Regions from separate parts of the Homo sapiens genome. Here region 2 is linked to region 1. The links are contacts of gene promoters, found by promoter capture Hi-C in human tissues and cell types (Jung and others, 2019). All regions are on one chromosome and are shown on one strand. The core of a region is centred on a gene start or on the middle of the fragment in contact, and the rest is flanking DNA. Distances in the headings are between cores, read along the strand shown. Region 1 holds the start of UPK3B (uroplakin 3B). Region 2 overlaps LOC124901681 (a long non-coding RNA gene).

Region 1 (4,605 bases), core at 1,052-3,551:
TGGAATTGGTGATGGTTGCACAACCTTGTTGATATACTAAAAGCTGTTGGGCGCTGTGGCTCATGCCTGTAATCTGGGCACTTTGGGAGGCTGAGGCAGGAGGATCCCTTGAGCCAGGAGTTCAAGACCAGGCTGGGCAACACAGTGAGACCCTGTCTCTACAAGAAATATATTTTTATTATATTTTTTTTGAGACAGAGTCTCACTCTGTCATCCACGCTGTAGTGCGGTGGTGCGATCTCAGCTCACTGCAACCTCCGCCTCCCGGGTTCAAGTCATTCTCCTGCCTCAGCCTCCCGAGTACTTGGGATTACAAGCACGTTCCACCACACCCGGCTAATTTTTGTAATTTTAGTCGAGACAGGGTTTCACCATGTTCGCCAGGCTGGTCTCGAACTCATGACCTCAAGTGACCTGCCCACCTCGGCCTCCCAAAGTGCTGGGATTACCGCCGTAAGTCACTACACCCAGCCTCAAAAACTATATTTTTAAAAATTAGCAGCTGGGCGCAGTGGCTCATGCCTGTAATCCCAGCACTTTGGGAGGCCAAGGCAGGTAGATCGCGAGGTCAGGCGTTCGAGACCAGCCTGGCCAAGTTGGTGAAACCTCATCTCTACTAAAAATACAAAAATTAGCTGGGCATGGTGGTAGGTGCCTGTAGTCCCAGCTACTAGGGAGGCTGAGGCAGAAGAATTGCTTGAACCCAGGAGGTGGAGGTTGCAGTGAGCAGAGATCACGCCATTGCACTCCAGCCTGGGCGACAGGGTGAGACTCCATGTCTCAAAAAAAAAAAAAAATAGCCAGGCACGGTGGCTCACGCCTGTAATCCCAATACTTTAGGAGGCCAAGGCAGGAGATTTGCTTGATCCTCCCAGGAGTTAGAGATCAGCCTGGGCAACATAGCAAGATCCTGTTTCTATAAAAAATACATTTTTAAAAATTGGCCAGCCGGGCGCAGTGGCTCACACCTGCAATCCCAGCGCTTTGGGAGGCTGAGGTGGGTGGATCACCTGAGGTCAGGAGTTCGAGACCAGCCTCACCAACGTGGAGAAACCCTATCTCTACTAAAAATACAAAATTAGACAGGTGTGGTGGCACATGCCTGTAATCCCAGCTACTCAGGAGGCTGAGGCAGGAGAATCACTTGAACCCAGGAGGTGGAGGTTGCGGTGAGCCAAGATCGAGCCATTGTACTCCAGCCTGGGCAACAAGAGTGAAAACTCCGTTTCAAAAAAAACAAAAAAAAAATTGGCGGGGGTGCCAGGCACGGTGGCACATGCCTGTAATCCCAGCACTTTGGGAGGCCAAGGCGGGTGGATCACTTGAGATCAGGAATTTGAGACCAGCCAAGCCAACATGGTGAAACCCCGTCCCTACTAAAAATACAAAAATTAGCTGGCCGTGGGGCACATGCCTGTAATCCCAGCTACTTGGGAGGCTGAGGCAGGAGAATCGCTTGAACCCAGGAGGCGGAGGTTGCAGTGAGCCCAGATCACGCCACTGCACTCCAGCCTGGACAACAAAGGAGACTCCATCTTAAAAAAAAATTAATTAAATAAATTTTAAAAATTAGCCGGAGCATGGTGTTGTGTGCCTGTGGTTCCAGCTACTGGGAAGGCTGAGGTGGGAGGATTAACTGAACCTGGGAGTTTGAGGCTCCAGTTAGCTGTGAACTGACCTCCCTGGGTGACATATATATATTTAAGCCACTGAGCTGTGAAGGTTGTGAAGGTATGTGAGTTATGTCTTGAAAAATACACACATAGTGAGCGCCAAATCCCGGGAGTAGTGTTTAAGTGGCGGGCTTGTCAGCTGTCAAGGGCTCTGCAGCCCTTTCTCTGAATCCAAGTTCTTCTTCCTGTGGACAGGGAACCCAGGCTGCGAACTGGGAGGATGTGGCCTCGTGGGGGGCAGGGCCAGCGTGCTGTGATGGGGATGGGGCTGGGCAGGTTGGGGCTGCCTGCTACTCCCCACTCCTGACTCTGGGTGGGGACAGAAGGCAGAGGGAGGCTCCTGGCACCTGGGGCACAGGAATCTCAGGCATGTGGTCCTGAGCCTGTTTCCAAAAGCCAGACCCTCCTCCCCAGGGCGGAGAGACTGGGAGGGGCCCCAATCCAGGCTCCGGGATGGCCTGGCTGGCATCTGGGGTTCCAGTGGCCCCTCTCCCTTGGCCCTGGCAGTGGGGCTGGATACTGGCCTGCCTCCCACCAGAGTCCCCCCAGCTCCTCCCTGCTGTGGGCTGGCCTGGGAGGAAGGGGGTGGGGTGCACTTACATTTGCAGGTCTTTCCAGCCCCTGGGGCAGCCTGATTAACCAGCTTCTCCAGGGCCAAGCTGTTGGGGGTGAGGTGCAGCCCGAAGCAGCCAGACCAGCCCCTGAGCCTCCCGGGTGCTGGCAGCTGTCATGGGGCTACCCTGGGGGCAGCCTCACCTAGGGCTGCAGATGCTCCTCCTGGCGTTGAACTGTCTCCGGCCCAGCCTGAGCCTGGGTGAGTGGGGGTCCTGGATGGACGCGTCCAGCCAGACCCAAGGGGCTGGGGGCCCTGCTGGAGTGATTGGACCCTGGGCGCCCGCCCCCCTCCGATTGGGAGAGGCAGCCCCAGGGACCCCCACGCCCGTCTCCGTGGCTCACCTTTTGTCCCCCGTGGCCACAGAGCTGGTGCCCTACACACCACAGATAACAGCTTGGGACCTGGAAGGGAAGGTCACAGCCACCACCTTCTCCCTGGAGCAGCCGCGCTGTGTCTTCGATGGGCTTGCCAGCGCCAGCGATACCGTCTGGCTCGTGGTGGCCTTCAGCAATGGTACGGGGACTGCTGTGGGGCCTGGGTGAGGGTGACGGCTGAGGAGAGTGGTGGGCCCTAGGAGCCCCTCACCAGCAAGCGCCTTCAATGATTGAGCCCCTGTGGGGGCCTTTGGGAGAGTAGGTGTGGATGAATTGGGCTTTATCTAAAGGGGTAATATGTGTATTGAAAAATACACACGTAGTGAACACCAAATCCCGGGAGTAGTGCTAGTGGTGGGTTTGTCAGCTGTCAAGGGCTCTGCAACCCTTTCTCTGAATCCAAGTAGTTCTTCCTTTGGACAGGGAACCGAGGCTGCGACCTGGGAGGATGTGGCCTCCTGTGGGGCAGGGCCGGTGCACTGCAATGGGGCTGGGGCTGGGGCTGGGCAGGTTGGGACTGCCCGCTGCTCCCCACTCCTGGCTCTGGGTGGGGACAAAAGGCCAGAGGGAAGCTCCCCTTCAGGGGTAACAAAGTCGACTGGGTCTGGACTATCTCTGGGGGCCCTGAGGGAGGAGGTGGCATGGGGGGTCAGGGCTGGAGACTGGGCGAACACAGAACCCCCACTCATAAGGACAAAGCTGCTTTCTCCCCTCCCACCTCCATCTGTTCTCTCCTCCTGCAGCCTCCAGGGGCTTCCAGAACCCGGAGACACTGGCTGACATTCCGGCCTCCCCACAGCTGCTGACCGATGGCCACTACATGACGCTGCCCCTGTCTCCGGACCAGCTGCCCTGTGGCGACCCCATGGCGGGCAGCGGAGGCGCCCCCGTGCTGCGGGTGGGCCATGACCACGGCTGCCACCAGCAGCCCTTCTGCAACGCGCCCCTCCCTGGCCCTGGACCCTATCGGTGGGTGGTCCCCACCGGAGCCCTGGGACTGGGGCTGTGCTTGGGGCGGACGCATTGCTGGGACCAGGGATGCTCTCTCTAGCATCTTTCCAGGGAGGGGTCCCCGGCCCCGGTCCTCCCCTTTGCAAGCCCGGGCTCCTTCCACTGTAGAGTCAGCAACAGTGCTCACCCCCGCTGGGGCCGGGCAAGGCCCAGGAGGAGCAGGTGGGCACCTTGGGGAGGCGGGATCTTAGTCAAGGTGGGAGGGGGCAGCTTCCCCAAAGTCTAGGCCCCTGTCCCCCACCACGGGCAGATCTGGCAGGAAACTCGGGGGCCGAGTTCAGACCCAGTCTCGTCGGTATTAGGCAGGGAGCAGGAGAGGTGGCTCCTACCCGCTCTTACAGATGAGGAAACTGAGGCACAGGAGGTCAAGTGGCCTGCCAACATCGGGGTGGAGCCGGGATGGGGAAGCAGGCAGTGTGTCCAGGTCAGGACTGTCCGGACACAGGAGGAGGCGGGGTGACCTCAGGAAGACCAGGCCCAGGGGAAGCCGGGAAGGCAGGGCGTGGTGAGGCTGGAACAGCACCCCGCTCCGCCCAGCCCCCTTCTGCCCTCTCACCCACTCTCCAGGTCCACCCTCTGCCCTCCCCGCTGCCTCACCCTGGCTCAGCCTTCCAGCTCCATGCCCCGCCCCATCCCCCGCAGCCACTCTTTTCAATGCCAACCTGCCAGGTCCTTCCCCGCTTCCCAGGCCTTGCAGAGCTCCCAGCCCTGCAAAGAGACAAACCGAGGCCCTCTGCGGGGCTCCTGGTGCCCTGGGTCCTCAGGCTGCTGGTGATTGAGCCCCCTGCCCCCGGCTACTGCTGCCCCTCTGGGAGGCCTGTGACCCCTGCCCCATGTGCCCTGCTAAGCCACCTTCACCTGCTCTTTTGGCTTGTGACATTTAGGAACCAGGGCCCCTAAACCAGCATCCCCGGCCCAGGTCTGGTGTCTG
Region 2 (4,605 bases), core at 1,246-3,745, 1.0 Mb after region 1:
AGGAGCTCATAACCTAGATATATAAACAAACCAGTATAAGGCAATGTAAGGACTAAAATATTGTGTTAAATGTATAAAGTGTTACAGGAGGAAAGAAAGAGAGAAATAGGCAAAGGGCTGAGTAGACATTCCTCCAAAGATATACAAATAGCCAAGAAGCACATCAAAAGATGCTCAACATCATTAATCATTAGGAAAATGCATATCAAAACCATAATGAGGTACCACTTCGTACCCAGTAGGATGGCCAAAAATTTTTTAAAGGAAAATAACAAGTGTTGGCAAGGATGAGAATAAATTAGAACCCTTGTACAATTTCTGGTGAGAATGTAAAATGCAGCTTCTGTAGAAAACAGTTTGGTTCTCCACAGAAAACCATGATCATAGGAACACTATTCACAACTCCTCAAAAGTGAACACTGCCCAAAAGTCCATCAATGGATGAAAGAATAAACAAAATGTAGTATATACTTATAATGCAATATTATTCAGCTTTAAAAAGGCAGAAAATCCTTTCATACGCTATAACATGGATGAACCTTCAAGACATTACACTAAATGAAATTAGCCAGTCACAAAAAGACAAATAAATGTGAGCCCACCTGTATGAGGTATCTAAAATAGTTATATTCATAGAAACAAAGTAGAATGGTAGTTACTGGGAGCTAGAAGGACAGGGAAATCAAGGAACATTGTTTAATGAGTATACATATTCAGTTTTGCAAGATGAAAAGTTTCTGGAGATCTGTTGCACAACAATGCAAATATATTTAACACTAATGAACACTTAAAAATGGTTAAGATAGTAAATTTTGTTATGTGATTTTACCAGAATTTTTTTAAAGGCAAGATACTACTCAGCATAAAGTTATACATGCACTGGAACAATAAAAATTCTAAATACAAGATAATGGTTATTTCTGGGGAGAGAAAGGAAGGACTCTATAGGCATCTCAACTCTATCCATACTGTTTTCTTACTGAAAATCTGAGGCAAATATGAAAATATTAAGATTTGAAACAAAACATTATGCAAGTGAAAGAAGCCAGACACAAGAGGCCACATACTATTATATATGATTCCATTTTTATATGAAATATACAGAATAGGTAAATCCATATAGACAGAATGCAGATTGGTGATTGCCAGGATGTTAGGGGAGGAAGGAGTAGGGAGTAACTGTTTAATGGGAATAGGGCTTTCTTTTGGGGACACGAAAATGTCTTAGAACTAGATAGATGTGGTAGTTGCACAATATTGTGAATGTACTAAATGCCACTGAATTGTTAACTTTAAAATGATTAATTACATATTATATAAATTTCACTTCAATTAAAACAAACTAAGGAAAGGGAGAATTTCAAGAAGGAATGGTATTCACTGAAAAGGGTCAAATGCTGCACAAGGGTTAAGAAGGATGTACACTAAGAGGTCATGAGATTTGGCAAGTAGGAAGTCCTTTAGGAGATATGTGCCAGTAGTCAGACTGTTGTGGGTTGCATGAGATGGGCAGTAGTTTGTGGGAGTCTTGAGCATTTTGTAGGATAAGGAGAGTCACTGAAGGGGAAAAGACTGACAATAAAGGAGAGGAGATATTTGTACAGCAAGAGTAGGAAGAGACATAAAAGGGTAGAGAGGGTCAACAGAATCCTAATAGTGGAGAGAAATGAGTAAGTTATAGGGGTAAATTTGTGATTTCCCAATTTCACTTGGAAAGGAGAAACTGAGTTAAAACTTGATAACTCCATTTTTCTAAGAATGAAGAAGCAGGGTGTAGGGCTTGAAGCGAGTGATAAAGCCATGGGAGCTGACCAAAAATGGACAAAAGGGCTGTCTGAGCAGCTTTGAGGGCTTTAGTAGAAATCATAAATATCTCCCTCGCACACACAAACCCACAATTAAAAAGTTCAACTGTTAAAGGTATTGCATGATTAATAGTATGTCTCACAAATTGCTCATTAGAAATAAAACCACTGCCTAGACTCATCTGTATGACACATGATACTGGATTTGTGAAATATTATGAATATACTTAAAAATAGTATTCATGTAACACAACAGAAAGATCACTCAGTGAGAACTACAGAAAGATAGCAAATTGAAATCTACTGAAGAAATATTAAATACCAAACATTCAGCTAGAAAAAGAAATGAAATATCTCTAGGAGACAACTTACTACTGAAGAAAGATATAAATAAATATTTCACCAGAATTTTGAAATAATGGAACTATTTAAAAATTGACAAGGAAAGGGCAGTTGATGATTGCCTTGATAAATTACATAGTTAATTTCTTTGAAAAAAAAAAAAAAAAGGATATGCCCTAAAGTTTAAAATAAACTATTTTAAAAGTATACTTTTAAAAAGTAACTGGTAGAGCATATTAAATGGAAATTAAAAACAATTTTAAAACCATAAAATGCTTGCTAATTGAAAACTAAGACTAATCGTAACTAGCTATTAACAGTAAATACCTTTTAACAAATTTTCAACTACTGAGCCAGGTGCAGTGGCTCATGCCTGTCATCTCAGCACTTTGGGAGGCCAAGGCAGGCAGATTGCTTGAGCTCAGGAGTTTGAAGCCAGCCTAGGCAACGTGGCGAAACTCTCTACAAAAAATACAAAAATTAGCTGGGTGTGGTGGCGTGTGCCTGTGGTCTTGGATACTCGGGAGGCTGAGGTGGGTGGATCACTTGAGTCCCAGAGGTCAAGGCTGCAGTGAGCCATGACTGTGTCACTGCATTCCAACCTGGGTGACAGAGTGAGAGACCCTGTCTTAAAACAAAACAAAAACCAAAGTTTCAACTACTGAATGAACTTGAATATAACTAAAAAATCGGCAGGCGCCTGTAGTCCCAGCTACTCGGGAGGCTGAGGCAGGAGAATGGCGTGAACCCGGGAGGCAGAGCTTGCAGTGAGCCGAGATCATGCCACTGCACTCCAGCCTGGGTGACAGAGTGAGACTCCATCTCAAAATAAATAAATAAATAAAAGAAATGTGATATTCACTGACAAGGTAAGGTAACCATCAAATGATGACATATAATATGCACATTAGGTGCCTTCTAGAATTCTATGGGCATTAGAAGATTTTTGCATAATATTACAGCAATTCTTGGAAATGAAATTTCCCTCTATAGATTTTAGTTTAGACTTGTATAGCTGCTAACGACACCAATTATTTGTTTGACTATAGGCTAAATAACAGAGTTGAAAGAAATCTCTGCTTTCTAGTTGCCAACACAGAAACATGAAGTGCAAGATTTTCACAGAATAGTGAATATGATAAAAATATAAAATCATGGAACTTTAAATATACTTTTTTAACTGCAGTACAATATATCTAACATAAAATTTATCATTTTAACCATTTTTAAGTGTATAGCTCAGTAACATTAAGTACATTCACATTGTTGTGCAACCATCACCACTAACCATTTTTTATCATCTCAAACTATATATTTTATTTATTTATATTGTGGTGAAAAACACATACATTTGCCATCTTAACCATTTTTAAGTGTATAGTTTACTAGTATTAAGTATACCTGTATTGATTCACATTGTTGTGAAACAGATCTCCAGAACGTTTTTATCTTGCAAATCTGAAAATCTATGCCCATTAAACTCCCCTTTTCCCTTCTGCCCCCAACCCCTGGTAACCACCATTCTATTTTGTTTCTATGAGTTTAACTACTTTAGATACCTCAAATAAGTGGAAGCACATTTTTTTTAATCTAAAATTATTAGTGGTCACTGAAGAAAAGGGATTTTTTGCTTGTTTTGTTTTGCTGATAGTTTGGCCTGACCTCAATCAATAAAGTGAATGAATTTTATATGGCACAATTATATTTCATAAGCCTTGTTAATGATCCATTCTTGAATACAGAAACCAAATGTCATCATGTTGAAAAACGACTAATTAGATGGTCAGGTAGTATTTGACTTTGAAGTTATTTATAAAATTTTAATTTTTCTTTGAATGTTAAATGAAACAGCATAAGAAGTATGAGATAGAAAGGTCAGAGAACAGGGTGGATTTAATGACTGTATTCTCTTGCAGTTAGCATTAATTATTACTGTATGTAGCCTTTGTTGTGTAACACTCTTAAGTTTTCATTGAGTGGAGAATTATCTGGGTTTTAGTTCTAGTTCTGCCATCTATGTGATCTTGGGCAAATAATTTAATTTCTCTAAAGTTATGCATTATTATCCTTACTAGTATTCTAATGCATATATAAAGAATATAGGGTCGGGTGCGGTGGCTCATGCCTGTAATCCCAACACTTCGGGAAGTTGAGGCAGGTGGATCACCTAAGGTCAGGAGTTAGAGACCAGCCTGGCCAACATGCTGAAACCCCGTCTCTACCAAAAAAAGAAAAGAAAAAAAAATTAGCCAGGCATGGCAGTGCACACCTATAATCCCAGCTACTTGGGAGGCTGAGGCAGGAGAATCACTTGAACCCTGGAGGTGGAGGTTACAGTGAGCCAAGATTATACTACTGTACTCCAGCCTGGGGACAAAGAGAGACTCCTTCTCAAAAAAAAAAAAAAAAAAATATATATATATATATATATAAAATAATACCTGACCTACCTACTTAA

What was found. The method cuts DNA at HindIII sites, captures the fragments that hold promoters and counts their contacts. A contact is called where the count stands out against the background at its distance.
Region 2: a contact is called between a fragment that was not itself captured here and the fragment with the promoter of UPK3B in region 1, in 1 of the 25 tissues and cell types used here (lymphoblastoid cells).

The regions. Positions count from the first base shown.
Region 1 is chr7:76,508,251-76,512,855 of GRCh38, forward strand. UPK3B (uroplakin 3B) reads left to right here and starts at 2,302. Exons shown (of 6, transcript NM_001347684.2): 1 at 2,302-2,487; 2 at 2,653-2,802; 3 at 3,407-3,632. The coding sequence starts at 2,403. LOC124901675 (a long non-coding RNA gene) reads right to left here and starts at 2,483. Exons shown (of 2, transcript XR_007060388.1): 1 at 2,274-2,483; 2 at 1-1,858. RefSeq lists a silencer at 684-889 and enhancers at 1,767-2,339, 2,340-2,912, 3,666-4,317, 4,318-4,605. The HindIII fragment of the contact is 20,174 bases long and covers 1-4,605 here.
Region 2 is chr7:77,523,457-77,528,061 of GRCh38, forward strand. All of the region lies in intron 2 of LOC124901681 (a long non-coding RNA gene), which reads right to left. Among named protein-coding and RNA genes, the nearest start is that of PTPN12, 12 kb to the right of the region's middle. RefSeq lists enhancers at 2,118-2,619, 2,620-3,119. The HindIII fragment of the contact is 9,064 bases long and covers 1-4,605 here.